Regions from separate parts of the Homo sapiens genome. Here region 1 is linked to region 2. The links are contacts of gene promoters, found by promoter capture Hi-C in blood cells and fetal thymus (Javierre and others, 2016). All regions are on one chromosome and are shown on one strand. Each heading gives the region's core, a stretch centred on a gene start or on the middle of the fragment in contact. The rest is flanking DNA. Distances are from core to core; before and after follow the strand shown.

The links. Contacts are between HindIII fragments. The CHiCAGO score rates a contact against its expected background, and 5 or more counts as called.
Region 1: a contact is called between a fragment that was not itself captured here and the fragment with the promoter of CPNE5 in region 2, in 11 of 17 cell types (monocytes, M0 macrophages, naive B cells and 8 more). The highest score is 15.4, in monocytes.

The regions. Positions count from the first base shown.
Region 1 is chr6:36,586,678-36,589,377 of GRCh38, forward strand. No RefSeq gene overlaps it. Among named protein-coding and RNA genes, the nearest start is that of SRSF3, 6.3 kb to the right of the region's middle. The HindIII fragment of the contact is 5,571 bases long and covers 1-2,700 here.
Region 2 is chr6:36,838,104-36,840,803 of GRCh38, forward strand. It overlaps CPNE5 (copine 5), which reads right to left and starts at 1,341. Exons shown (of 21, transcript NM_020939.2): 1 at 1,180-1,341. The coding sequence starts at 1,274. RefSeq lists a silencer at 1,805-2,014 and an enhancer at 2,699-2,700. The HindIII fragment of the contact is 11,867 bases long and covers 1-2,700 here.

The sequences.
Region 1 (2,700 bases), core at 5-2,504, 250 kb before region 2:
TCAGGCTTCCAGTTGGTTTTGAGCAAAAGATGTCACCATTAAAAGATGGGACAATGGAGAGAGTGGTTCTAGCCCCACACCCCCAAAACTGGGCTGCCACAGTTCCTCTATCTAAAGCTATAATAGCTCATCTCCCACAGCAACAGCAGCTGGCTGTTTTTGGTAACCCTGCTCCCTTCCTTGCCCCATTGGGCCTACGAGCTGCCTTTGGGATTGCCCTTACCCACTATGGGTTTCCTTAACTCTGCCCACACCCCTGTACATAATTCCCTATGTGGTTAACTCTTTAAGTGTGCCATCTGGTTTCTGCCAGGATCTTGACTGAACCATGTAGTTAATGAACTATTGTGATGGTTCATGCTCTTTTTTAAAAAATTTTTACTTTTTTTTTGAGACGGAGTCTCACTCTGTGGCCCAGGCTGGAGTGCAGTGGCACAACCTTGGCTCACTGCAACCTCTGCCTCCCGGGTTCAAGAGATTCTCCTGCCTCAGCCTCCAGAGTAGCTGTGATTACAGGTGTGAGCCACCATGCCTGGCTAATTTTTGGGTTTTTCTTTTTTGAGACGGAGTCTCGTTCTGTTGCCCAGGCTGGAGTGCAGTGGTGTGATCTCGGCTGACTGAACCTCTGCCTCCTGGGTTCAACCGATTCTCCTGCCTCAGCCTCCCTAGTAGCCGAGACTACAGGTGAGTGCCACCATGCCCAGCTAATTTTTTGTATTTTGAGTAGAGACGGGGTTTCACTGTGTTAGCCAGGATGGTCTCGATCTTCTGACCTTGTGATCCTCCCACCTCGGCCTCCCAAAGTACTGGGATTACAGGCGTGAGCCATCGCGCCCAGCCAATTTTTGTATTTTTTAGTGGAGATGGAGTTTCACCATGTTGGCCAGGCTGGTCTCAAACTCCTGACCTCAGGTGATCCACCTGCCTCGGCCTCCCAAAGTGCTGGGATTACAGGCATGAGCCACCACGCCCAGCCTGTGAAGGTTCATACTGTTTAAGATTTTCCTTCACGGATACTTGAAGTCAATCACAATATTTAAAACATTAAATATTTTATTATTTATTTATTTATCTATTTGTTTTGAAACGGAGTCTCACTCTGTTGCCCAGACTGGAGTGCAGTGGTATCTTGGCTCACTGCAACCTCTGCCTCCTGGGTTCAAGGGATTCTGCTGCCTCAGCCTCCCAAGTAGCTGGAATTACAGGCGCGCACCATTATGCCTGGCTAATTTTGGTATTTTTAGTAGAGACAGGGTTTCGTCATGTTGGCCAGGCTGGTCTCAAACTCCTGACCTCAGATGATCTGCCTGCCTCAGCCTCCCACAGTGCTTGGATTATAGCCAAAAAAAATTTTTTTTTCTTCTTAGAGACAAGGTCTTGCTATGTTGCCCAAGTTGGAGTGCAGTGAAATAATCATAGCCCACTGCAGCCTCGAACTCCTGTACTCAAGAGATCCTTGCCGTCTCAGCCTCCTGAGTAGCTAGAACTACAGGCATGCAGCACCACTTTGCTAATTTGTTTTTTTAAATTTTTGTAGAGACAATAGTAAAACTGCTGGTTTCAGAACACCTGGCCTTAAGCGATTCTCCCATCTTGGCCCCCCAAAACATAAAACATTAAACCAGGCTGGGTGCAGTGGCTCACGCCTGTAATCGCAGCACTTTGGGAGGCTGAGGCGGGTAGATCACGAGATCAAGAGATTGAGACTATCCTAGCCAACATGGTGAAACCCTGTCTCTACTAAAAATACAAAAATTAGCTGGGCTTGGTGGCGCATGCCTGTCGTCCCAGTTACTCAGGAGGCTGAGGCAGGAGAATCACTTGAAACTGGGAGGTGGAGGTTGGAATGAGCCAAGATCATGCCACTGAACTCCAGCCTGGTGACACAGCAAGAATCTGTCTCAAACAAACAAACAAAACAACAACAACAAAAACATTAAACCTTATACAAAACTCTTAGCACCTGGCCATCAGTAATTTCTTTCTTTTTTGAAAATTTTTTTTTTCTGAGCAGAGTCTCACTATGTGCCCCAGGCTGGAGTGAAGTGGTGCAATCTCAGCTCACTGCAACCTCTGCCTCACAGGCTCAAGTGATCCTCCCAACTCAGCCCCCTAAGTAGCTGGGACTATAGGCGCACAACACCATGCCCAGCTAATTTTTGTATTTTTTTGTACGGGGCGGGGGGGTCTTGCTATGTTGTCCAGGCCAGTCTCAAACTCCTGGCCTGAAGTGGTCCTCTCGCCTCAGCCTTTCAAAGTGCTGGGATTACAGGCATGAACCATTGTGCCCAGCATTTTTTGTTTTTAATTTTAAATTAAACATTTTTTAAATTTTAAGTTAAAAAATATATATACGTGGCCAGGTGCAGTGGGTCACACCTGTAATCCCAGTACTTTGGGAGTCCGAGGCGGGCGGATCACTTGAGGTCAGGAATTCCAGACCAGCCTGGCCATCATGGCGAAACCCTGTCTCTACTAAAAATAAAAAAATTTGTTGGGCGTTGTGGCAAACGCCTGTAATCCCAGCTACTTGGGTGGCTGAGGCAGAAGAATTGCTTGAACCCAGGAGCCAGAGGTTGCAGTGAGCCAAGATCACACACTGAACTCCCAGCCGGGGCGACAGAGTGAGACTCCATCTCAAAAACAAACAAACAAACAAACAAAAATAGTGAATTGGTAACAGGTGAATTTTAGAATTGA
Region 2 (2,700 bases), core at 91-2,590:
GTCACACTGAGTCCTTCCCTCCTTCACGCCCCTGCCCAGACTCTCCAGCTCTACCTACACCTCATCAATGCCACAACTTTGTAATACAGGACTGGGGGGCAACAAGGTTACCTCTCATGGAGGGTCTGACCAAGGAGCAACCTGGAAGAGGATGAGATGGGTGATTTCGAACAAGGGCACAGCCAGGGCTCCAGAAATGCTGTCGGTGATCTGGGGCAGGGGGCATGGCCTCTGTGGGGGAACCTCAAAGTGGGTGATGCTTGCGTGGCAGCACATGATCCTAGGCCAGCCACAGAGAGACTGAACTAGGGAAAAATCCCCCTTTGCCACCCATACCCTCTTACTGCCAGGGGCAGCCTTCCCCTAGCTAGGAGAACCTGGGGTCGACCCAGCTCTTAGACAGAGAAGTTACCCCCAAACCCTGTGTGACATGAGTGAAGATTTGGGCGTGGTAGCCCACAAAAATATTCCCCCTCCTCCTCTGTTGGACTCTACAGTTTCACAATCAGTGTTCTATTCCTTTGGCTTAAGATTTTTGACCCAAGTTATTTTTTTAATGGTGCCACTTTAAGTTGTTATCATGTATCCACACCTTAGTATGAATGAGTCAATCTGATCCTTTTCCAGGAGTCGATTTCGTTGTTGATAGAGATGAAGGAAGGCTTTAAAATCCTAGAGTCTAGGACAGTGGGGTGGGGGAGACTGGTGAGGGGAGGATCAGGATGCTGGGGCAAAGAAGGGGCAAAGAGAGAAGAGAGGAGGGCACAGAAGGGAGAGGGTGGACGAGCCTGGGAGGGATGGGGGCAAATCACTCACTTCGTGATTTGGGGATGGGGTGATCAGAGATAGCCTGAGCAGAGACCGTAGTACAGCCTTTTACCAACTCCCTCTCCCCACTTGGGTGCCTGGACCCCCTGTTCCTGTGTCTTCATATCTCCTCGATGCAACAGCCTGGAGCGCAAACTTTCTGGGATATGACCCCAGCCTGGCTTCCTATTCTGCCGTCGCCACCCGCAGCTGGACAGGACAGGGGCTCTTGGCAGATCGGCAGGGGCGCAGTCCTGGAGACCAGGACACTCTGGGAAGGGGGCGCGCGGAGGTTTAGGATCGAAGCGGCAGGGGCCGCGGGGCTCTGCGTCCAGGGCCGGGGCAAGGGGACCCGGCCAGCGGGAGGCTCACCTGCAGGACACGGTGATCTCCACCTTGGTGGCCGGGATGCTGCCCGCCAAGGAGTCGAACTCGCTCAGCGACGCCATGTCCTCAGGCTGCTCCATCGCCCACCGCACCCCCCACCCCAAATTAGTCAATCCCTGCGCGATTCACGCCTCCTCCGGAGCGACTGGAGCCCTGGGCTCTCCCCCAACTCCAGAGCCTGGGCTGGGCGGCAAGGGGAGGAGAGAGGAGCGCGAAGAGGGGGCGTGGGAAGTGAGAGAGGGAAGAGGGCGGAGGGAGCGGGGGCCGCGGATCGAGGAGGGGGCTCGGGTGACGCCGCGAGGAGGCTAGGGGCCCAGTGGGGAAGGGCAAGGAGCCCAGGGAGCGGGGGCACAGCGGGGAAGGCAGAGAGGGGCGCGGGGAGAGGGGCTCGGGGAGAGGGCACCGGGAGGGAAACGCGGAGTCGTGGAGAGGGGCACCAGGAGAGGGACGCGCGTCTGTGGGCAGAGGTAGAGGGGATGCAGAAGACAGGGAGAGGGGCGTGAGGAGCGGGAGGCGCCGGATGGGGCGCTGGCGGCGGGGGTGGCGGGGCGCCGGCAGCGCGGAGCCCGAGCGCCCGGGCTGCGCCGCCTCTCCCTGGGTCTTGGCGCCGGCGGCGACGGGGCTGAGACGCGGCTGCGAGCGCCACCTCCTCGGCTCGGGCTTCGGCTCCGGGGCGCCCGGGCTGCGGGAAAATCAAATCTGCCCGAAGCCGCAGCCTCCCGCCGCCCGGGAACGCCAGAGGGGGCGCCCGCAGGGGCCGGGGCGGGGCCGCGGGCGGGGTCTGCGCGCAGGGTGAGTGTGAGCGTGTGTGTGTGCGCGTGTGTGTGTGTGTGCGCGCGTGGCGGGCCGGGGGACGCGGTCCAGATGCTGGGGACGTGGCGGGTGACAGCAAGAGGTGGTCCTGGTCGCGCGCATCTTCATTTGCGCCCGCCCCCTCTCACCACCCCTATCTCCCATCAGGGGTCTCCATCCTGGGGGAGGGGGAGGGTTATGGGAACCAACGGGCGCCTTTTTGAGAAAGGTCTATGCAGGGTTGAGAGGGGGCATAAGTGGGAGGGAGGTGTGCAAAAAAGATCCCCTCCCAGGGGCTTGGGTGTGGAGGGTCTCTGCTGAGTGTGCGCCCTACTCGGGGGCGGGTCTCAGTTCAGAAACAGACCCTACATCTCCTTCTGGGGAGGTGTGTGGGGGCGACCCCAGTGCCAGGAGGGACTACCTCGGTTTCCCAGTGGCCCAGGTGGGGTCGGTGCATGGGCGCCTCCCCCATCCGTGGTTCCCGCCAGCCGCGGCCTCGCCAAGTCGGCTGCCGAAACCACGCGCCAGCGCCCTTCCACTCCCCCGCCCGTCGTGACCACACGACTGAGCCAGCCTCCAGGTCTAGAAGCTCCTGCCACCCAGTCTGGTGGCAACCAGACTGGGAGATCGGCCCGAGCTCCCTGGGCTTCTATGCAGCCAGCACCGAGTAGGCGCGTGCTGTGTGCCTGGCGAGCGAGGGGAGAGTTGGGACAC